7 separate regions of the Homo sapiens genome follow, and regions 1, 2, 3, 5, 6 and 7 are each linked to region 4. The links are contacts of gene promoters, found by promoter capture Hi-C in blood cells and fetal thymus (Javierre and others, 2016). All regions are on one chromosome and are shown on one strand. Each heading gives the region's core, a stretch centred on a gene start or on the middle of the fragment in contact. The rest is flanking DNA. Distances are from core to core; before and after follow the strand shown.

The links. The method cuts DNA at HindIII sites, captures the fragments that hold promoters and counts their contacts. A CHiCAGO score of 5 or more calls a contact.
Region 1: a contact is called between the fragment with the promoter of GLS2 here and the fragment with the promoter of RNF41 in region 4, in 1 of 17 cell types (activated CD4 T cells). The highest score is 5.2, in activated CD4 T cells.
Region 2: a fragment that was not itself captured here is called in contact with the fragment with the promoter of RNF41 in region 4 in 1 of 17 cell types (activated CD4 T cells); the score reaches 6.0 in activated CD4 T cells.
Region 3: a contact is called between a fragment that was not itself captured here and the fragment with the promoter of RNF41 in region 4, in 4 of 17 cell types (M1 macrophages, erythroblasts, activated CD4 T cells and 1 more). The highest score is 7.4, in M1 macrophages.
Region 5: a fragment that was not itself captured here is called in contact with the fragment with the promoter of RNF41 in region 4 in 3 of 17 cell types (fetal thymus, naive CD8 T cells and total CD8 T cells); the score reaches 6.6 in fetal thymus.
Region 6: a contact is called between a fragment that was not itself captured here and the fragment with the promoter of RNF41 in region 4, in 2 of 17 cell types (naive CD4 T cells and activated CD4 T cells). The highest score is 5.4, in naive CD4 T cells.
Region 7: a contact is called between a fragment that was not itself captured here and the fragment with the promoter of RNF41 in region 4, in 1 of 17 cell types (fetal thymus). The highest score is 5.8, in fetal thymus.

The regions. Positions count from the first base shown.
Region 1 is chr12:56,486,911-56,489,925 of GRCh38, reverse strand. It overlaps GLS2 (glutaminase 2), which reads left to right and starts at 1,765. Exons shown (of 18, transcript NM_013267.4): 1 at 1,765-1,989. The coding sequence starts at 1,808. It overlaps LOC124902944 (a long non-coding RNA gene), which reads right to left. Exons shown (of 2, transcript XR_007063331.1): 1 at 2,974-3,015; 2 at 2,594-2,939. RefSeq lists a silencer at 1,419-1,848 and an enhancer at 2,009-2,228. The HindIII fragment of the contact is 16,217 bases long and covers 1-3,015 here.
Region 2 is chr12:56,503,422-56,506,772 of GRCh38, reverse strand. No RefSeq gene overlaps it. Among named protein-coding and RNA genes, the nearest start is that of SNORA105C, 7.8 kb to the left of the region's middle. The HindIII fragment of the contact is 5,999 bases long and covers 1-3,351 here.
Region 3 is chr12:56,567,812-56,571,051 of GRCh38, reverse strand. RBMS2 (RNA binding motif single stranded interacting protein 2) reads right to left here. Exons shown (of 14, transcript NM_002898.4): 3 at 2,019-2,077; 4 at 1,062-1,153. Among named protein-coding and RNA genes, the nearest start is that of RBMS2, 48 kb to the right of the region's middle. The HindIII fragment of the contact is 2,157 bases long and covers 534-2,690 here.
Region 4 is chr12:56,220,622-56,223,967 of GRCh38, reverse strand. RNF41 (ring finger protein 41) reads left to right here and starts at 2,046. Exons shown (of 7, transcript NM_005785.4): 1 at 2,046-2,208. It also overlaps a transcript of NABP2 not described here. RefSeq lists enhancers at 509-803, 220-1,153, 1,635-1,854, 1,154-2,088, 2,075-2,124. The HindIII fragment of the contact is 1,612 bases long and covers 1,555-3,166 here.
Region 5 is chr12:55,746,703-55,749,740 of GRCh38, reverse strand. It overlaps GDF11 (growth differentiation factor 11), which reads right to left. Exons shown (of 3, transcript NM_005811.5): 2 at 758-1,155; 3 at 1-239. Among named protein-coding and RNA genes, the nearest start is that of GDF11, 5.1 kb to the right of the region's middle. RefSeq lists enhancers at 2,219-2,722, 2,723-3,038. The HindIII fragment of the contact is 9,248 bases long and covers 1-3,038 here.
Region 6 is chr12:55,955,592-55,958,634 of GRCh38, reverse strand. PMEL (premelanosome protein) reads left to right here. Exons shown (of 11, transcript NM_001384361.1): 4 at 28-162; 5 at 551-712; 6 at 964-1,686; 7 at 2,416-2,532; 8 at 2,772-2,856; 9 at 2,966-3,043. Among named protein-coding and RNA genes, the nearest start is that of PMEL, 8.9 kb to the left of the region's middle. RefSeq lists an enhancer at 1,229-1,730. The HindIII fragment of the contact is 2,620 bases long and covers 139-2,758 here.
Region 7 is chr12:56,591,965-56,595,135 of GRCh38, reverse strand. RBMS2 (RNA binding motif single stranded interacting protein 2) reads right to left here. Exons shown (of 14, transcript NM_002898.4): 14 at 1-3,171. Among named protein-coding and RNA genes, the nearest start is that of BAZ2A, 37 kb to the left of the region's middle. The HindIII fragment of the contact is 7,914 bases long and covers 1-3,171 here.

The sequences.
Region 1 (3,015 bases), core at 516-3,015, 270 kb before region 4:
TAATCCAAAAATGAAAACTATGGGACAAGCACGGTGGCTCATGCCTGTAATCCCAGCACTTGTGGGAGGCTGAGGCGGGCGGATCATCTGAGGTCAGGAGTTTGAGACCAGCCTGACCGATATGGCGAAACCACATCTTTACTAAATACAAAAAATTAGCTGGGCGAGGTAGCAGGCGCCTGTAATCCCAGCTACTAGGGAGGCTGAGGCAGGAGAATCGCATGAACCCAGGAGGCGGAGGTTGCAGTGAGTCGAGATTGCGCCATTGCACTCCAGCTAGGGCAACAAGAGCAAAACTTCGTCTCAAAAACAAACAAACAAAAACTAGTATTTTGTGATACAGCCAGAACTATCACAAGGAAAAGACTCCCAGTACTGTATCATAATACTTCCACATAAAATACCTCCTTTAGGGATGGGGTCATTTCTCCCGGGATAATTCAATTCAATGCTTAATTTTTGAGAAGGGCTGCATGAAGGAGAGACTTGTAGTTAAAAAAAAAAAACGGGTCTAATTTCTGGTTCTGGTACTTACTAGCTGGGTTACCTTATGCGAGAATTCTTAATTTCCTAGTCTTAGTTTCCTCACCTTCAAATTGAGACTAATAACTACTTTGTAGGTCTCTGGTAAGAGGGAGAGAGAAACTAAGCGGTTGGAACACCATGGGCACTCAATAATAGCTATCATTTACATAATGAGTCCCTACTAAATATGGATGCTGGGTTAGGCGCTGCCGAGATACAAGGTGAAAGTTCTAGCTGCAAATGGCAAAAGTCCTGAATGTTCTTGGATTTCAAAATGCTTTTTGTATATCGCCTCTTTTCTGCCCGTGAGGAGGACAAGGGCAAACAATTAAAATAGGAAAAATGTGGGGAGCACTTCATGGTTTATAAAACGTTTTTCTGCGTGCCAACTTATTTTAATGTCTTAACTTTCCAGATTTGAAAACAAGTCCTACACCAAATAAATGGTAGAGGGACACAAACTGGAACCCAGGCTTCCTAACCGCCAGAGCGACCTTCCCGCCGCCCAATGCCTCCCTGAGGTGCTGGTCGGCTGCTTCTGCCCGGGGTACCCAGCAGTCATCCTACTCTCCACTCAGCACCACCGCACGTCGGCCGCGCGCCACGCTACCCGCCGGGTTACTGGGCGCTGGTTTGGCCTTCGGAGGTCGAGGCTCTCTGAGTGACCTCCTGAACTGGGCTCACTCTTACTTAGCCTCCTCTCTCGAGGCAGCACCCTCCTCTCTACACGACAACTCCATCATTCGCAGCCCCACGGTGTTCCCGGGGAGCGCCTCCCGCCCCCACCGGCTTCGCCTCAGCTTGTCCTCGCCTTTCCCGCCCTCAGCATCCGCGGATACCCGCGCTCGCCGGGCCCACGCGGAAGCATCCGCAGACTGTCGCAAGGTCCCACCGTCTTGCTCTCATTGGGCAACCTTACCCTTTCCCCGCCTCAATGTTTTTGCTTCCTCAGTGATTGGACCTGGGCATTGTCCATTCCAGCTCCCAGGCACCGCCCTCTCTCCACCCACTAGAAAGCCACCCGGGTTCTCCTTCATCCCCAACGCTCCTCACCTAGCCCCTGTCCTGAGGGTGCCCCTAACCCTGGAGCCAGCTTTAAAGGGGCAGGCCCCTTCTCCTGCCCCAGCCCCAGCCCCACCCACCGGGCCCACATTCTCCGTCTTCCAGGTCCAGCGCTCCCTCACAGAACTCCCCCGCACCTTGTCTCGCTCGCTCCGCCCCTCCTTCCCAGCCACAGCTAGAGGTCCCGGGCGCACCTGCAGAGCCGGAGGCTTGCTGGGGCATGCGCTCCATGAAGGCTCTGCAGAAGGCCCTGAGCCGGGCTGGCAGTCACTGCGGGCGAGGAGGCTGGGGTCACCCGAGCCGGAGCCCCCTCCTTGGCGGGGGCGTCCGGCACCACCTCAGTGAGGCCGCGGCGCAGGGCAGAGAGACGCCACACAGCCACCAGCCGCAGCACCAGGATCAGTAAGGCTCCTGGGACAGGGCAGGGGACGGGCTTGCCCCCACTCCCACTGTGGTTCTCGCTAGTTCCCGAGTGCCCTTCCAAGGCAGCGCCGCTCATCTCCCCTCTCCTCGCTCACTAGCCCTCGGTGCCTTTTCCTTTGGATGTGGGGCTTTGGGTGCGCCGCGCTCGGGCGGTAATCTGCCGTCTGCCTAGGAGTGCGTTCGGGCAAGCGGGTCCTGGGGATGGCGCCTGTCCAAGGTGCGCACTTAACCCGGATCACAGATGCGCGCCGAGTGTTGCTTGGCTCACGTGTCTGAGTGCAGGGCCGGGCTCACGCCGCCAGTCCTCACCTTCCCTAGTCCTCGTGTGTATTTTAGGAGATGCGTGGATGTGGAACAGCCTCCTGCCTCCGGTCCAGGTGTACTGGGGTCTGTGTGTTGTGTTTCTGCGTGTTCTCGGCAGGTAATGTGTGATGCGCGTGTATTATTGGTGCGCAGGTACGTCCATAAGTGTTGGGTGTGTGCGTAGCAGTGCTCCCTGAACAGCAGAATGGGGGGGAATTTCCAAACTGGTTGTTGAATGGGGAGAATATTTGTAATGGAGGAAAGGTCTTTAAGACGCAGATTTCCCAAACCAGAGCCAGTCAGAGCCTTTATTTGTGCTGCCCAGGCTCCAGAATCTAAAACGTTCTCTTCCTTTGGGTGTTTCTTCCACCCAGGATGCCAAACCTTTATCTTCCCCACCGCCTAGGACACACTTGGTGGCTGAGCCTTTTTCTCTGAGACCCAGACGGTGCTGAGCAGGAAATCTTGTCCTCCCCAGAGGGCCAGCATAGACACTGTCCAAAGAGCCCCTGCTCTACTGTAGCAGGAACAGGAAATGGGCCATCTCCCTCGTCGCTGCCATCTCCCTGATGACACTCAGAAACATGGACACCATCAGTAAAGTAGCCAGACTGACACAACACTACCTCACCACTACTCGAGTCTCTGACACAACACTACCTCACCACTACTCGAGTCTCTGTCGTAAGGGACACCAATAGG
Region 2 (3,351 bases), core at 406-2,905, 280 kb before region 4:
ATCTTTTTTATATCTTTTTTATTAATCCTTTTAACGTTTAAAAACATCTTATTGGACAACAAGGCCTCCAATAAAATATATAACAGAAGCTGTGATACCAAGCCTGTTCCTGATAAACTCTATCAGGTTTTAGACATTCCTTTTCTTCTTTTCTTTCTTTTTTTTTTTTGAGATGGAGTCTTACTCGGTCGCCAGGCTGGAGTACAGTGGCATGATCTCGGCTCACTGCAACCTCCACCTCCCAGATTCAAGCGATTCTCCTGCTCAGCCTCCCGAGTAGCTGGGACTACAGGCACGTGCCACCACGCCCAGCTAATTTTTGTATTTTTAGTAGAGACGGAGTTTCACCATGTTGGCCAGGATGGTCTCGATCTCTTGACCTCATGATCCACCTGCCTCAGCCTCCCAAAGTGCTGAGATTACAGGTGTGAGTCACTGTGCCCAGCACTTCTTTTCTTTTTGAGACAGAGTTTCCCTCTGTCACCCAGGCTGGAGTGCAGTGGCCACAACCTCGGCTTACTGCAACCTCTGCCTGCCGGGCTCAAGCAATTCTCATGCCTCAGTGTCCTGAGTAGCTAGGATTACAGGTATGCGCCAACGTGCCCAGCTAATTTTTATATTTTTAGTAGAGATGGGGTTTCTCCACGTTGGCCAGCTGGTCTCCAAGTCCTGTCCTCAAGTGATCTGCTGGTCTTGGCCTCCAAAAGTGCTTGGATTATAGGCATATGCCATGATGCCTGGTCTAGACATTCCTTTTCTTGTCTCATTTGCTAAGAGCTTTGAAAATATTTGCTTGAAAGACATTTATCAAATAATTTTTCTACAATGACTTGAGAGGATCATATAGATTTTTCTCTCTTAATCTGTTGATGTGGTGCGACTACATGTTTTCTAATATTACACCATTCTAGCATCTTTGGGATAAACACGACTTTGCCACGTGTGTGTGTTCAATTTTCTAATATTTTATGACTTTTGCATTTATTTCTTTATATAAAATTGGTCTATATCTTACTTTTCTTATACTGTCCTTGTCTAGTTCTGGGTTTAAAGTTTACAATAGCTTCACAAAACAAGTTGTGAAGTGTTCCTTCTCTTTTTATTTCTTGGAAAATCTGTTCTTTGAAGACTGAAGTCTTCAAAGTACTGCCACATAAAAGTACTTCAATAGTACTTCGCATAAAATCTGTATATATTTTTTTCTATGTCAGTATTTAAAGTACAAAATCTCTAATCTCATCAAAATCTCAGTATTTCCCAGCATTCCTACAACACTCTAGAGTTAGTGCCCTCTCCTAGTCTTTACTATAGCTGTTCTAAACATTTACCACTCTAAGTTTTCTACCTCATTATTTCACTCTGCATTCTTAGCATATCATATTTATCTGCTATCTTCAACCTTGATATCTCTACTGGCTTTCCTCCTCCACATGTGGATACATGATGACCTTTTAAAAAGACAAGATAGGGCCAGAAGTGGTGGCTCACCCCTGTAATCCCAGCACTTTGGGAGGCTGAGGTGGGTGGATCATGAAGTCAGGAGTTCGAGACCAGCCTGGCCAGTATGGTGAAATCCCATCTCTACTAAAAATACAAAAATTAGCCGGGCGTGGTGGTGCTCGCCTGTAGTTCCAGCTACTCAAGAGGCTGAGGCAGAAGAATCGCTTGAACCCGGGAGGTGGAGGTTGCAGTGAGCCGAGATGGTGCTACTGCACTCTGGAGCAACAGAGCGAGACTCCGTCTCAAAAAAAAAAATTAAAATTAAAAGAGAGATGAAAACATACATAAAAAACAAATAAACAAAAGCCCTTCCCTGTACCCTATGTTCTTCTGTAGATATTCTTAGTTTTCCCCATAATCAAGAGTAATCTACATTTGCTAACTGTATGTCCTCATCTCTCATTTGTTTTTCTCCACTCACTTTTAATTGTATTCCAAGTTATGTTAGAGTTGGGAAATTACTACTGGGTTATATTTATTTTTTATTTTATTTTATTTTATTTTTTTTGAGACAGAGTCTCGCTCTGTCGCCCAGGCTGGAGTGCAGTGGCGCCATCTAGGCTCACTGCAAGCTCCGCCTCCCAGGTTCATGCCATTCTCCTGCCTCAGCCTCCCGAGTAGCTGGGACTACAGGCGCCCGCCACCACGGCCGGCTAATTTTTTGTATTTTTAGTAGAAACGGGGTTTCACCGTGTTAGCCAGGATGGTCTTGATCTCCTCACCTCGTGATCCGCCCATCTCGGCCTCCCAAAGTGCTGGGATTACAGGTGTGAGCCACCGCGCCTGGCCACTGGGTTATATTTAAAAAGCAACATAATCAGATTTGCATTTCTGCAAGACCACTTGTGGCTATACTGTAACGAATGGAAGGGAGTAAAACTGATGGGAGACCTAAATTAAGAAGCCTCACTAAGATAGTAGCAATGGGAATGAGAAGTGGATGGATTTGAGTCCCATTATCGGATGTAAAGGATATGGAAGCAGGAGAAATAAAGGATCACATGTGAACCTCTAGCTGAACAATGGATTTTTTTGTCATTGTAGAGATGGTAAGTCTCCAGCCTGAGCAACGTGGCAAAACGCTGTCTCTAAAAAAAATACAAAAAATTAGCTGGGCGTGGTGGTGTACACCTGTACTCCCAGCTACCCAGGAGTCTGAGGTGGAAAGATCACCTAACCCCTTGGAGGTCGAGGCTGCAGTAAGCCATGATGGCGCCACTGCACTCCAGCCTGGGTGGCAGAGTGAGACCCGGTCTCAAAAAAAGAAAAAAAAAAGAAGAAAAGAAAAAAGAAAGCTGACCTGACCACATAAAGAGAAAACATTTCTACATGGCAAACAAATCCACAAATGGAAAACCAAAGTCAAATGATAAACTAGCAGGGAGGGGAGAATGTATGCAACTCATTTCATAAAGAGCTAATTTCCAAAAAGTTCCAGCCGGGCGCAGTGGCTCACGCCTGTAATCCCAGCACTTTGGGAGGCCAAGGCGGGTGGATCACGAGGTGAGGAGATCGAGATCATCCTGGCTAACACGGTGAAACCCCGTCTCTACTAAAAATACAAAAAAAAAAAAAAAAATAGTCGGGCGTGGTGGTGGGCGCCTGGAGTCCCAGCTACTCGGGAGGCTGAGGCAGGAGAATGGCGTGAACCCGGGAGGCGGAGCTTGCAGTGAGCCGAGATCGTACCACTGCACTCCAGCCTGGGCGACAGAGTGAGACTCCGTCTAAAAAAAAAAAAAAAAAAGAAAAAGAAAAAGAAAAGTTCCTAAAAACACATATTAAAAGCCTAATATCTGGCCAGGCACAGTGGCTCACACCTGTAATCCCAGCGCTTTGAGAGACTGAGGCAGG
Region 3 (3,240 bases), core at 363-2,862, 350 kb before region 4:
TTAAGAATTTAAGCAGTCACTCTGCCCTAAACAGTGGTCACCAGCAACCTTAATCCTCTTCTGCCTTTTCCTTTTGTTTTCCTTTTCTTTAACCATTACAGAAAAGGTGTCTAGCAGGCCTGCCTCACAAGCTCTATGTATAATACTCATAACAGCTTCAGAAAGGCAAAGGGACAGCCAGGCGTGGTGGCTCATGCCTGTAATCCCAGCACTTTGGAAGGCTGAGGTGGGCGGATCACAACGTCAGGAGATCGAGACCATCCTGGCTAACACGGTGAAACCCTGTCTCTACTAAAAATACAAAAAATTAGCTGGAGGTGATGGCGGGTGCCTGTAGTCCCAGCTACTTGGGAGGCTGAGGCAGGAGAATGGCGTGAAGCCGGGAGGTGCAGCTTGCAGTGAGCCGAGATTGCGCCACTGCACTCCAGCCGGGGCGACAGAGCGAGACGCTGTCTCAAAATAAATAAATAAATAAAATAAAATAGAAAGGCAAGGAGACAATCCCACCTAACAGAAGAAGTGAGAGAAAAGCTTCTAGATTTCTAGTAGTCTAGGTGAAGACAACAGTTTCAGACAGATCTGAGAAGAGACAGTTTCCTCCCTTGATGTGGCTTCCCTCCTGCCTCCCCAGCCCACTACCCAGCCCGTATGGGGAACAACATTAGGAGGTGGAGAGCATTGTTCTGAAATTCTGAGTTGCACAATTGACTTGTTCAGAGAATGTTGCAAAACCACCACAAGCTGTCTGGTAGGGAAGTGGGGCCAGGGTGAATAATATAGGGAACACGGGGAAGCAGCAGGAGTACCGGAAGAGGCCACCTTACCTTTCTTGCTGCCAATAACTTGGTGAAAGGAAGAGAGCTGATAGAGCTACCTGCCATAGACTTTGAATACATCTTCCTCCAGCAGCCAGGGGTGCTCATGGACTGTCTAGAAAGCACCACGGATAGCCCTTGCCCACTCAATTTCATGGTTCTTAAGCCCTCTGGAAACCTTAGAACTGGAACTTTGGTGCTAACCACAAACCCCTTGGAGGAACAGACATGGGGTAGTACCCTTACCTTTGCCATCTGTGCCTGTACACCGCTGGCCTTCAGTGCTGTTACAGCTTTCTGTGCTGCTGAAGGGCTGTCAAAATCTACAAAGCCATAGCCTGGAACAGAGGAAACAGCATCACTAGGAAGTGGGAGGTGTAAGGAACAGAGAGGTCCAGGCTTTTCAGGAGACAGAGGAAGAGTTATGATCCATGTAACAGAAATGGGAGGGAGAAAGAGCTATTGAGAGGTTTCAGGTAGTTATCCACATGCTCCTCAAACCCTGAGATGTGATCTACTTTGTGGCTAAGAATGCCAAGGCAATGAGCTACTCTGGTGTCCCTGCCCTTCTCCCTCCCCCTTAAGAAATTTGAGGTTTCAGGAACTAGGCTCTGCTAATAACCCAAAGCCCCCCTACACCTCTAAAAGAATTCACTCCCCTCTTTTCTTGATATACCCCAGAAATGCTAGGCATGTAGGGAATGCAGCCTCTCCAGAGCAGACCACCAGCCACCTGCTGGAAGAAGACCCTCACCACCCCAGCTTATAGCCCTTTCTCTTCCTTCCACTCTTCCAGCTCTATCTAGAACTGCTCAAAACCCCAATAAAACTACTCACCCTCAGAAAATAACACCCACCAAAACACTCCCCAAAAAAGGCATTTACATGACTTTGCTAAGCAGAAGAAAATCTCACTTACCCACTTCTACCACCTCATCCAGGGAAATACAAAGTCCAAAATAAGCTCAGTAGACTCAAAGGTGTTTTGTACAGTCTTCTGGCCTTGGGGCCCCTAAACAGCATTTTCAGCTCTAGCTATCTGGTCACCAAAGAATCTAAATATCTCCTAATCTTTTAAGCCTAAAAACTTCAGGGACTTCTCGCTGACACTGTAGACTCAGGACTCTCAGCAGTAAAGGGCAGTGTCAAGGGATGGCCTCACTTACTGGTGCTCTCCAACACCAAGGACAGTTGTTCTCTCACCTTTACATTTGTTTGTGGTCTTGTCCAGTATGGCCTTAGTGGAAACAATCTTGCCATATCTAAGGGAGAGGAAAATGCAAAGTAATAATCTGGGGGGCAGAGACTAAGAATAGGACAGAGATTCAGACATCTCAACAAATCCATGCCCTTTCCATGATCTAACTTTTCCTACTCAAACCTTCATAAAAATAAAAAAGAAACGGGGGCCGGGTGCAGTAGCTCACACCTGTAATCCCAGAATTTTGGGAGGCCGAGGCTGGAGGATCACTTGAGGTCAGGAGTTTGAGGCCAGCCTGGCCAACATGATGAAGCCTCATCTCTACTAAAAATACAAAAATTAGCTGGGCGTCACGCCAGTAGTCCCAGCTACTTGGGAGGCTGAGGTAGGAGAATTGCTTGAACCTGTGAGGTGGAGGTTGCAGTGAGCCAAGATGGCACCACTGCATTCCAGATTGGATGACAGAGCGACACTACATCTCAAAAAAAAAAAAAAAGAAAAAAAAGAAATGGGTTAAAAATGCCACACTTAATATAAACCCATCCTCCCCAAAGGTACCTAAAAGAAATAAGGTAACTGTAGTCCCTATAATACCAACACATTTCTCTCTTCTTTCCCAGCTAAGACTCACACACTAGTTGGAAAGAGATGACTGTCTTTTGGGGAAAGAAGCTTGGCAATGTCCACACGAAAGAGTGTGTAGAGGCAGAGCTCTGGCTGGAATTCCCTGAGGACTAAAAAGAATCCTTGCCATTACTTATTTTCTTTTGGAAAACACCACTGATCCTATGAAAAAACTATAGACATTTTTCTTCTCTGATATCCTATTTCCATCACCCCTCCACTGACCCCTTTAATTGAAGGTCAACCTGAGCCAAATTGCTTTGGTTCAAATCCTGGTTCTGCCACTTTTTAGCTATGCGTGATCTTGAACAAGTCATTGAACCTTTTGGTGTCTCAGCCTCATCATCTGTAAAATGGAGATAGGATTGTTAGGACTGTGAATTAATAAACAGAAATCATTAATGTGTACCACATGGTAAGCACTTAAAATTTTTAATTGCTATTATTATATTCAAGGAACCTCAACTTTAATATCTCTTTGCCTTACTCTAAGACTTCTATTTCTCATTGTCAAGATTTGAGAGTGTTAGGGAGGGGAGTGGGAACTGTAGTATTAAAAAAAAAATTGTGTGTGTGTGTGTGCATCAGGGTCTGGCTCTG
Region 4 (3,346 bases), core at 797-3,296:
GTAATTCCAATTCCGCAAGGCGCGGTGGCTCACGCCTGTAATCCCAGCACGTAGGGAGGCATAGGCTGGAGGATAGCATGAGTCCAGGAGTTCCAGACCTGCCTGGGCAATATAACGAGACCCCATTCTCCACAAAAAGGGAAAAAAAGACAAAAAATATGTAATTCCATCTTACGAGAAAACGGAAGTTATATTTAAAAAAGTGCCTTGCACACAGTAGGCACACACGGTTTCCTCCCTTTTTATTGCTCTAACCGTTATCTTTGTTCCTGATTTGGGGTTCTCATCTTTAATGCACTACCCAGCTTGGTCAAGGTCTCTGGGAAAAGTGGCATTTACACCAGAGACAAAAGGCAGGCTCACCCTTCTTGGAAGAAATGGAACCTGCGACAAAGAGAGAAACATTGTTAGTCCCTTTTTTTTTTTTTTTTGAAACAGGGTCTCGCTGTGTAACCCAGGCTGGAGTGTAGTGGTGCAATCTTGGCTTACTGCAACCTCCCACCACAGCCTCCGTAGTAGCTGGTACTACAGGTTCGCACTACCACCCTCGGCTAATTTCTGTATTTTTTTTGTAGAGACAGTTTCGCCATGTTTCCCAGGCTGGTCTCGGACTCATGACCTCAAGGGATCCGCCCACCTCGTCCTCCCAAAGTGCTAGGATTACAGGCGTGAGCCGCTGCACCTGGCCATACTACTCTTCCCCGCCCCGCCCCACCGCTCCACCCCGGCAAAGGAGTCTTGCTCTGTCGCCCAGGTTGGAGTGCAGTGGCGCGATCTCGGCTCACTGCAATGCAACCTCTGCCTCCCGGGTTCAAGCGATTCTCCTGTCTCAGCCTCCCGAGTAGCTGGGATTACAGGCGCCCGCCACCACGCCCGGCTACTTTTTTTGTATTTTTAGTAGAGACGGGGTTTCACCACGTTGGCCAGCCTGGGCTCAAACTCCTGACCTCGTGATCCACCAGCCTCGGTCTCCCAAAGTGTTGGGATTAAAGGCATGAACCACCGCGCCCGGCCATACTACTCTTATCTTACTTATCTCAGAGTCCCGCTAGAAGACAGCAGAAAGGAGGCCTGAAACTTTAGTTCCTTTTGGGACCTGTCAAATTGTCCACAAAAGGTAGCTAGCTCTGTATTGTTGTGTATAAACAAATTACATAAAGATATGTGTGTATGTGTGTATTAATGTGCATTAGCATTTGCTTAGCCAATGTCCACAATAAATACCATACTATTTAATACCAGATTAGTCTAGGAAGTCATGTGATTGTAATGCCTTGGTTTGCTTAATTAATCCCTTATCTGCTCACGGAGCTCTTTAGGCTCCACATTGACTTCCCTTGGATCCCACGTTCTCTACCGCCCACATCCCCAACACCACGGTGTTGTAAGCTAAGGAAATCAAACCCCAACTCAGGAAGAGGGAAATTTTTTCTCCCTTCCTTCCTCTTAGGTGTTTCAGGGAACTCCACAAGTGTTCGGGGAGCCATCGTGGATACGGCAGGAGAGCGCCTGGGAGAGAGGCAGACAACCCGTTGAGCACCCCAGATCTAAGCTTTGCGGTCAGACTCCCTCACTCCCCACCCCGCGGCCGCCTTGTTAACTGCAATATCCATTCCCATGACAGGAGTCAAGGGGTTACGAAGCTCTGGGATGCTGACCAGGGCTCTGGAAAAGGGAGAGGGGCCGGACCCGCAGCAGGTCACGCTGCAGGCCTGCCTCTCCGCAATGATCTCGCAACAATCTGCGTCAGCTCTAAGACACAAGTCACCTGCACCCCTCCAAAGCGAAGCGTGGCCGGCCAGGCCCACACGTTTTTGCCGGGAAGAACATAGAGTTCTCCCTCCTAAATGGCTACATAGTCCTGGCTGGGACCATATAGACTCTAGACTAGACTTCCTGTCTAGAGTGGAGGCCTGGCCAGCCTTCGTCCCTCCTCGTAGGCAGCTCCTGGCTGCTGGTGTAGGGGCTGAGTTAAACAAAGAGGCGGGGTTTGGTGACGAGCTTCCGCCGGGTTGCGTAGCAGCGGTGGGCGGGGCAAAGGATCCGTCTGAGGCGGCGACGAGTGGTAGGAGTCTTCTTTCCCCTCCTTCCCCTTTCCCTTCCCTTCCCGGGAGAGGCTGGGACCCGGCACCAGGGCAGTACTGTGGCCGCTGCGGCCTCAGCTCCGACTGGGTCAGGTTGCGGAGACTCCAGGCCGCTTCCAGGGCGGTGCGTACTGCGCCTGCGCGATCTTCCACCTAAAAGAGGGTGTGGGAGGGGAGGAGGTGATGTCCCAGGGGTATTGGGGCGGGGGGTTGAAATAACTGGGGTTCAGGAGGAGGGATGGTGGTAGAGATAAAAATGTGAGAAGGGAGCAGCACTGGCGAGGAGTCGGGAGGTGAGAAGGGGGCTCTGGAGAACGGGTTGTTGGGGAAGGTCCATTGGAATAGGGGAGCTTTGAGAAGTGCGGGAGGGGGCCGGGGCTAGCTGGAGGACCGGCACCTGCAGAACTGGGGGAACAGCGTGGTGTTTAAATGGGCAATGATTGACGGGCCAGAAGGGGAGGAAGGGAGCATTCCGGGGGCCAGCCTGGGCAGGGGCGGTGGAACCTAAACCCCCGCCCTCGAAGCGCCATAGCTTGGCTCCTCTCCCATGCCTTGTCGTTGGCAGCCTTGTCCTCTCATTCCTTCCCCGCTCCTCACCCCCTCCCAGCCCTCCATGAAGGAATCTCACATTCTTCACATCCCTGCGCTTGGTTTGCAGCCTGGCTCTCTGGCAGGGTTCACACACCACACACTGGAAGGCCTTCCCTAACTCAGGACTTTGGGAAATTGGGTAGTGGGGAGGAGGGGGCTAGAGGAAGAGCAGAAAGCCAGGAGGGGTGAAGGCGTTTTGCTTGAGGGATTGACAGACTGCTTCCCCGTTCAGAAACTTCATTTCATTTAATAGCAAGTGGGGCTGTTATTGAGGCCACTGTTCTTGGGGACTGGCCCGTGATAGTGTTATCCCTTTCTATACAGGGGTTTTAGAGTCTGACAATAGGGCAAGAGACTGATAGTGTTGTTGGCTGATAGTTTTGCCCCAAATAAGAATGTAGTGGACTAGTGGTAGGGAATGTGAGTGATGCAATGTTAAGCCGACCGACCTGTGGCTAGCCCTGCCTTCTAGTAAAAAGAAGGAACAAGCTTTTGTCAAGCATTTCCTCTCCGACTCTCAGTACTCTAAATTTATTTTGCATTCTTGTTTTTTTTTTTTTTTGAAACGGAGTCTCACTCTGTCACCCACGCTGGAGTGCAGTGGCACAATCTCGGCTCAGTGCCACCTCTTTCTGGGTTCAAGCGATTCTCCTGCCTCAGCCTCTTGAATA
Region 5 (3,038 bases), core at 6-2,505, 470 kb after region 4:
TGCTGCACCAAATGGGTATGCGGATATTTTTGCATGAACATGTACTCGCACTGGCCGGAGCAGTAGTTGGCCTTGTAGCGCTTAGGTGCGATGATCCAGTCCCAGCCGAAAGCCTCAAAGTCCACTGTGAGGGGATATCGGCAGCAGCGGGACTCGCTTGAGTGCTCGTCGCAGTCCAGACCCAGGTTCCGCCGGGAACGTTTTGTGTTCTCTAGGACTCGAAGCTCCATGAATGGATGCTGAGGGTCAGGGAGAGGGGAAAGAAATGTGATATGGTCCTGAACAGTTCCTCTTCCCTGTTCCTTTCCCACCTGCCAGGGGCATCAGAATAGAGACTGCTGACTTCTCAGCTTTTCCATTGCTCCCACCCCCAGAATTTATCTTTTGCCCACTTTTCTTGCCAGCTAGCTAGCTCTCCTTCAACTCACCATCTCTAATTCTTACTCTTCTGGCAACCTGATCCCTGTCAGCCCCTTGGCCCAACGCCTCAACAGCCAGTTTTTTTGTTCTCACAGCTCTTCCATTAACTGACACCTTTACCTTCAAATCCAGTTTTCAGCTGTTGTCTGATTTGGATCCTTGAGAAGTAATAGTTGCCACCCCACTCCTCACCTCCTCCTCTAGAATCAGCTGCTGACCCCAGAGAAGTAATGCTGGTCCCCAACCTCCTTCACATTCCTTGTCTACCTTTTCCAATGTAACCCTATCTCCTCAGGGCCAGGTTACACATATCCACCACCTCAGGCCCCCTGCTCACCAGCCCCTCGGCTCCCGGCCCCAGGGAGGTGACAGCCAGGTCTGTGCCACTGGGATCAAAGGCGTTGATCTCGATGCCCCAGTTGCTCTGTGGCTGGCGGAACCAGCTGTGTAGCACTTGCTTGAAGTCGATGCTCTGCCAATGGCCTGAGCGTGAGTGCAGCTCAATCTTCAGTGAGCGGATACGGATGTGACGCCGGCCTCCGCCCCCTCCCCCTGCGGTCCCTTCCCCAGTTAGGGGTTTTAGTCGCAAGATCTGCAGGTAGACTGTGGCTGGGCGGGGTACAGGCCGTAGGTACACCCACAGCTGGGCCTTCAGTACCTTTGTGAACATCACCTTGGGGCTGAAGTGAAAATGGCAGCAGAGAGGGCTGCCATCTGTCTGTACTGCTGGGTCCGCTGATAAGAGAGAAGGGCACAGCATCAGCAAAGGGTGTTTGTGTAGGGGATCAGTAGTCCTGGGTGGCACTGGCAATTTTGGACTTCTCAGCCTGATTTTCCAGTTCTTCTTTACCCTTCTCCCATGCCTATCTTATACCATGTCTCCGGTACCTAAAACAGCACTTCCTCTTTAGGATGATGGCCCTATAAGGCCTTACTGATCTGTGTCCATTTCCTAATCCATTTGCCCTAATATATAGGTTCCTGTCTACCAGATAACCTGCAAAATTATTCATCCACCACCATCCTTACTGTCCAACTTTTCCCAGCATATAAGGCTCCAACATTTTCTGAATCTTTGAAGCTCTTTATAGAAGCCATACCTCTTATCACACCTGCTGCCCTTCCATCACCTTTCCCCTATCTGCTCTGATTTATCTGCTGGACAGGTAGAGCCTGGCACATCCCTCCCCCACAAAATAACACAGATGGCCTCAGAGAGGGGATAACCCAGGGTCCAGATAGGGAGCATGAGCTAAATTTATCCCATTATGTAAACCAGAATTCAGATCTAGGCTTCTTGCCTCACTCCCATTAGGAATAACACCCAGCAAAATGGAACTATCCAAGCACTTCCTATACATCTGTCTCCCCATTCTCTCTTAAGAAGTTTCTTCAGCTGCTGCTCCATCATCATCACCATGACTGCCCCCAGCTCTTGAGGAAAGGAATAATTACCTCCATGGTGTTGCCTCCTATTTGCCTAAAGCACCAGAAATAATATTAAATACACCAGATTAACTACAATGCCTTTTTTCTCCCCTGAGCTTCCTTTGACTTCTCAGTCTAGTGCCAGTAGGTCTTTACAAAGTTTGAACATCCCAACTTTACATTTTGACCCATTTCCCCTTGCTCTGGACCTTAAATTGATCCTTCTTGGGTCTAATAGATGATTCTCAATAAATATCTGCCTCTGCCTCCATTCCAGCTCCTCTTCACTGCCTTTCCTAAGTCAGTTGGGAGTGTCCTACAACATGTCTCCATTGGACAGAATATGTCTATCCTGACTCTAGATAGGAAGAATCAGGAATGAGCTTCCAGAGCCATATAAGCAGGGTTAGGAAGTCTAGGCCTTTAAGTATCCTCCCCATGTCTTGAGTTCTGCAAAATCAGGATGGACTTAGGGTGTCCTGTCAGCTCTTCCCCACCCCCACCCTGGGAGAAAGAGGACCTTCTAAGGGAGATGAGGAGAAAGTGCTTAATGAACTTCATATATTCAGGATATGATACCCAAAGTCTCTATAGCTTTTTTTTTTCTTGATTATTCTCTGAGGTCCCAGGGCCCTGGTAGTCCAGTTATTTTACTGGCTGGAGCTTCAGTGATGGTGCAATGGAGTAGGGTTTGGGGGGTGAGAATTCAGAGATCAGAAGTAGCTGGGATAGGGAAGCTACTAGTGAGATGGGGAGTGACAAGCAACATCCCAAATAGCATACTTTACAAATTTCAGCATAAGAATTGTCTATTTTCTTGCCATTAGGTACTAATCTCCATGAGAGTGGACACTGTTGTTATTCATACTGTGTCTGTTTTGCTCACCATTGTAGCTTCAGTGCCTCCCATAGTGCTAGACAGCACTCAATAAATACATGGTGAATGAACTCCCTAAACTCCCAATCTTAAATTATACAGGCAAGTGCCTGAAAGTTCTTCCTGGCATCTAAATTCTGTTCTTTGGCTATAATTGAAGTGGGTTTAATCACTGCCTGATTCCTTACTAACCACTATCTAACCTTACTCACCAAACTTCTCAGTGTGATACAGATAATAATAATTCTTGCTTCACATGAGTGCTGAGCATTAACTAGAGAATGTGAAAATAGGAAACAAACAAACCAACATT
Region 6 (3,043 bases), core at 199-2,698, 260 kb after region 4:
GAGAGTGACTCTGTATTTATCTTTCAGGGAGCCAGGTGTGGGGAGGACAGCCAGTGTATCCCCAGGAAACTGACGATGCCTGCATCTTCCCTGATGGTGGACCTTGCCCATCTGGCTCTTGGTCTCAGAAGAGAAGCTTTGTTTATGTCTGGAAGACCTGGGGTGAGGGACTCCCTTCTCAGCCTATCATCCACACTTGTGTTTACTTCTTTCTACCTGATCACCTTTCTTTTGGCCGCCCCTTCCACCTTAACTTCTGTGATTTTCTCTAATCTTCATTTTCCTCTTAGATCTTTTCTCTTTCTTAGCACCTAGCCCCCTTCAACTCTATCATAATTCTTTCTGGCAACTCTTCCTCAATTGTAGTCCTACCCCATGGAATGCCTCATTAGGACCCCTTCCCTGTCCCCCCATATCACAGCCTTCCAAACACCCTCAGAAGTAATCATACTTCCTGACCTCCCATCTCCAGTGCCGTTTCGAAGCCTGTCCCTCAGTCCCCTTTGACCAGTAATCTCTTCTTCCTTGCTTTTCATTCCAAAAACTTCAGGCCAATACTGGCAAGTTCTAGGGGGCCCAGTGTCTGGGCTGAGCATTGGGACAGGCAGGGCAATGCTGGGCACACACACCATGGAAGTGACTGTCTACCATCGCCGGGGATCCCGGAGCTATGTGCCTCTTGCTCATTCCAGCTCAGCCTTCACCATTACTGGTAAGGGTTTAGGAAGGGGCAAGGCCAGTTGTAGGGCAAGAGAAGGCAGGGAGGCTTGGATGGACTGGAAAGGAGAAAGGTGAAATGCTGTGCAAACTTAAAGTAGAAGGGCCAGGAAGACCTAGGCAGAGAAATGTGAGGCTTAGTGCCAGTGAAGGGCCAGCCAGTCAGCTTGGAGTTGGAGGGTGTGGCTGTGAAAGGAGAAGCTGTGGCTCAGGCCTGGTTCTCACCTTTTCTGGCTCCAATCCCAGACCAGGTGCCTTTCTCCGTGAGCGTGTCCCAGTTGCGGGCCTTGGATGGAGGGAACAAGCACTTCCTGAGAAATCAGCCTCTGACCTTTGCCCTCCAGCTCCATGACCCCAGTGGCTATCTGGCTGAAGCTGACCTCTCCTACACCTGGGACTTTGGAGACAGTAGTGGAACCCTGATCTCTCGGGCACTTGTGGTCACTCATACTTACCTGGAGCCTGGCCCAGTCACTGCCCAGGTGGTCCTGCAGGCTGCCATTCCTCTCACCTCCTGTGGCTCCTCCCCAGTTCCAGGCACCACAGATGGGCACAGGCCAACTGCAGAGGCCCCTAACACCACAGCTGGCCAAGTGCCTACTACAGAAGTTGTGGGTACTACACCTGGTCAGGCGCCAACTGCAGAGCCCTCTGGAACCACATCTGTGCAGGTGCCAACCACTGAAGTCATAAGCACTGCACCTGTGCAGATGCCAACTGCAGAGAGCACAGGTATGACACCTGAGAAGGTGCCAGTTTCAGAGGTCATGGGTACCACACTGGCAGAGATGTCAACTCCAGAGGCTACAGGTATGACACCTGCAGAGGTATCAATTGTGGTGCTTTCTGGAACCACAGCTGCACAGGTAACAACTACAGAGTGGGTGGAGACCACAGCTAGAGAGCTACCTATCCCTGAGCCTGAAGGTCCAGATGCCAGCTCAATCATGTCTACGGAAAGTATTACAGGTAAGAGTATCAGTGCGAATGAGGTTCACGGAGGTGGGGTACCCTACTCTACTCTGTAAGTCTTACCCAGGACTCAGATGTTACCCAATCCTTTGCTTAGCACTATGGTCCCCTCAGAGTTCTCACTGGCCTGGCTATAAAGCCCTCCAGTCTCTCTTAATGACATGGAATAGGTCTGGAGTTCAGGAAACCAAGGTCTTCCCCTAGGCCATGAGGAAAGAGCTTGTTGCTTTCTCTACTGCTGAGAACGGTTGGCGAGACCAGGGAACAGACTGTGATCATTTATATAATATTTATAGCTCATTTTCTGTTCAAGCATAAATGCACGAAAATCCTTCCCAGATTCCGAGATCCTGATCCTTCCATTTCCCAACCCTGGATTCCCATCCCAAAGCAAAAAGGGAGGAATGAAACAGTGATGCTTAAATGAGTTAACACACGTTGAATGTCTAGCCTAGGACCTGACATAGTGTGGGGTGTGATAAACATTTGAGGATTTTTTAAAACTCCAATGCCACCCCTAACTGTGACTCTGGAGGAGTCATTTTCTTCTTCTGGGCCTCAGTTTCCTTATCTATAGAATAAGGTTTCCCAGGTCTTATCTGATTCCAAGCCTGTGACTCCAGAATCCAGTAACTCTGGTTCAACCTGAAAAAATGCCTGCTTGGCCTCTGCCTCCAGATGAGTCATCTGTCTCTTGATCTTGCCTCCTTGATCCTCTCCTGCCAGGTTCCCTGGGCCCCCTGCTGGATGGTACAGCCACCTTAAGGCTGGTGAAGAGACAAGTCCCCCTGGATTGTGTTCTGTATCGATATGGTTCCTTTTCCGTCACCCTGGACATTGTCCGTGAGTCTTGCCTACTTTGGTGGCTGATGGAGGCAGCTGTGTGCTACCTAGGGCTGGTCAGTGGAAGCACACCTTGGGAGGAATTACTCACCTAGATAGGAAGAATACCCAAATGCCAGAGTCCTCATTTGAAAGCACAGGGATGGGATTGGTGGAGCAGCCCTGGGGCTTTTCTGTCTCTGGGCTTTTGGGGAGGCCAGGTAGAGGAATCCTAATTTGATAAGCTTGCAACTCTGCAGAGGGTATTGAAAGTGCCGAGATCCTGCAGGCTGTGCCGTCCGGTGAGGGGGATGCATTTGAGCTGACTGTGTCCTGCCAAGGCGGGTGAGTGTCTCACTAGTGTGCTGGTAACTCTTTGGTTGACTGTTTCTCCGCTCTCTGGCATTTAGTGTCCCTTCCCAGATCCCCTTATATATGCTGACACTTCTTCCAGGCTGCCCAAGGAAGCCTGCATGGAGATCTCATCGCCAGGGTGCCAGCCCCCTGCCCAGCGGCTGTGCCAGCCTGTGCT
Region 7 (3,171 bases), core at 521-3,020, 370 kb before region 4:
GTTCTAAACTCTGCTCCTATGCTGGTGTCCTCCAACCATTACTTATTACCCTAAGCCGTCACTGCACAGCCTACTCCCCTGGCCTATCACAGCAGGACCTATCTGGAGAGTTCACACTATTCTAGGGCGATCAGTGAGCTAAAAATCCCAGAGAAAACACTGTAGGAATAGAAATTCCCAAGTTTAATTCCCAAGAGTTTAAAAATTATGAGCCTTTTCTAGCCCCCACCTTCCCAACCCTCAGAGAAGGACAGTAAAGAAATCAGTGAATCCAGGTATTTACCTGTTGTTGAATTGTGAGGTTGTGAGGTAGACGTGTAACAAGGACAAGGAAGTTTGGGGATCTGCTTGGAGAATGAAGGTTTATTCAAAACAAGTGGACAGGTCAGGGGTAACGGGTGATGAGGGCACCTGGCTTTTGTAATCATGTGGGGACTGTCCCCTGGGAGGTGCAGCAAAAATCAGAACGGAGACAGAAGCTCACAGTCTGGTTTTAGCTGCCAACTCCTATGGAAGTCCATAGCTGACTCCTATGGAAGGCCTACCAAATGAGGAAATTTCAGGAATTTGCTAATGCGTGGGAGGATTGAAAATGTAGGCAGCACAGAAATAGAGTAGTTGGTTTAAACGGGAATCAGGAAGGATTGGTATAACAAGGCACAAGATTTGGAATTTACCCTTTACAGACTGGCTTTTATAACACCCACCCTCGTCTCTGAAGCCTGCTGATTCAGGGCTAGCAGAGCCTAGGGGCAAGTTTGGGCCAGATCACCCACCCAGTTTATTGCCCTTGGCTAAGAATGCAAAGCCCCTCATGAGCGCAATGCTGCCACTTGCCCAGAAGGTGGGGCATGTGCACAAGGCAGCAGCAATAGTTCTTTTCTAGAAGACTAATAGCCACTGCTACTAGGGATTCCTAGGACATTCCAGCAAGGCCTCTCACAGCATCATATGACGCAAAGTAACAGCCCACGGGTTGACATTGGAGTGACAGGCCTCAACTCCCAATGGGTTGACATTGGAGTGACAGGAGTAGGCACTGGAGGCACTAAGGGAGGGTGAGTGAGCTGATTGTCAAGTTAGGAAAGGAAAACGAATGGAGTGGAGCTGAAGTGGCCCAACCCAGCGCATGGCCTGTGAAGCAGCAAAGTCTGGTCTTCATCTTCAATATGAGTAATGTCCTCTTACCACTCCTTATCTGTTACTGACAAGGTCTATTACCCTTTAGAGCCACCAGGCTTCCTGGCCTGGGCAACTCTACAAATTCTTTAGTTAAAAACACTACAAAGGGCCGGGTGCAGTGGCTCACGCCTGTAATCCCAGCACTTTGGGAGGCCAAGGCAGGTGGATCATTTGAGCCCAGGAGTTCAACACCAGCCTGGGCAATGTGGCAAAACCCTGTCTCTACTAAAAATACAAAAATTAGCCAGGCATGGTGGCAGGCACCTGTAATCCCAGCTACTCAGGAGGCTGAGGCAGGAGAACTGCTTGAACCCAGGAGATGGAGGTTTCAGTGAGCCAAGATCACGCCACTGCACTCCAGCCTGGGCGACAGAGCGAGACTCCGTCTCAAAGAAAAAATAAAAATAAAAAAACTGAAAAGGCCAGGTGTGGTGGCTCATGCCTATAATCCCAGCACTTTGGGAGGCCGAGGTGGGTGGATCATTTGAGCCCAGGAGTTCGAGACGAGGCTGGGCAACATGGCGAAAACCTGTCTCTATTAAAAATACAAAAATTAGCTGTTTGGAGGTCAGGAGTTGGACACTAGCCTGGCCAACGTGGTAAAACCCCATCTCTACTAAAAATAAAAAAATTAGCCAGGCATGGTGGCACAAGCCCATAGTCCCAGCTACTTGGTGGCCGGGGAAGGGGTGGCTGAGGCAAGAGGATCACCTGAGCCTTGGGAGGTCGAGGCTGCAGTGAGCCATTATGGTGCCACTGCACTCCAGCCTGGGCCACAGAGTGAGACCCTGTCTCAAAAAAACAAAACAACAAAACCAAAAAACCAAAAACATTAAAAACAACATCTCATCCAAGCATGGAGGCTCACACCTGTAATCATAGCACTTTGGGAGGCTGAGGTGGGAGGCTCACTTGACAGGAGTTCAAGACCAGTCTGGGCAACATAGTAAGACCCCTGTCTCTACAAAAACTTAAAATAACGAACTGGGCTTGGTAGTATGTGCCTGTACTTCCAGCTACTTGGGAGGCTTAGGTGGGAAGAACCCTTGGGCCCAGGAATTCAAGACTGTAGTAGACTACGACTGCATCACTGCACTCCAGCCTGGGTGACACAGCAAGACCATCTCTAAAAAATAAAATAAAGGCCGGGCGCGGTGGCTCACGCCTGTAATCCCAGCACTTTGGGAGGCTAAGGCGGGCAGATCACCTGAGGTCAGGAGTTCGAGACCAGCCTGGCCAACATGGTGAAACCCCATCTCTACTAAAAATAAAAAAATTAGCCGGGCATGGTGGTGGGTGCCTGTAATCCCAGCTACATGGGAGGCTGAGGCAGGAGAATTGCTTGAACCTGGGAGGCGGAGGTTGCAGTGAGCCGAGATCGTGCCATTGCACTCCAGCCTGGGCGACAGAGCAAGACTCTGTCTGAAAAAATAAAATAAAATAAAAACATCTCTCTCCATCATCATCTCCACATCTTCCTGACCTCTCTACTGGCACCCTCCTCCAAAAAGTCCAATCAGTTTAGGGTCTGAGTATCATCTCAGAGCCTGAGATGAGGAGTAATAACACCGATAGGAGATGGCTAGGCAGGCTCAGAGCCTATAAAGGATTATGCCATCTGAGGAAAGGACTCTAGTGTGTTCTAGCTGACTGAAAACAGAAAAATGCCAAGTACTAAAATATTTTAAGAATGTTATGAGCATCTGTAATGAGTGGGGGTGAGATGTAAAGTACAAAGAGAGTAAGAGCTGGGCTCCATGAAGACAGCATTCAGAAAACACTAGGCATAGTGTTTAAGAGCCCAACCCTTGGCTGTGAGCTGGAAGGCTCCCCTATGTTTCCTTCTGCCATCAACCCAACCAATTAGACTATTTCATGGGAGAAACAGTATCCCTCCTTTCTTCTCCCTCCTTTCCTCCAAACACTCACCCACTGTTACAAATGAACTAACAATTAGGAGAGGAAATGAGTGTAAACCAAATGCACCAA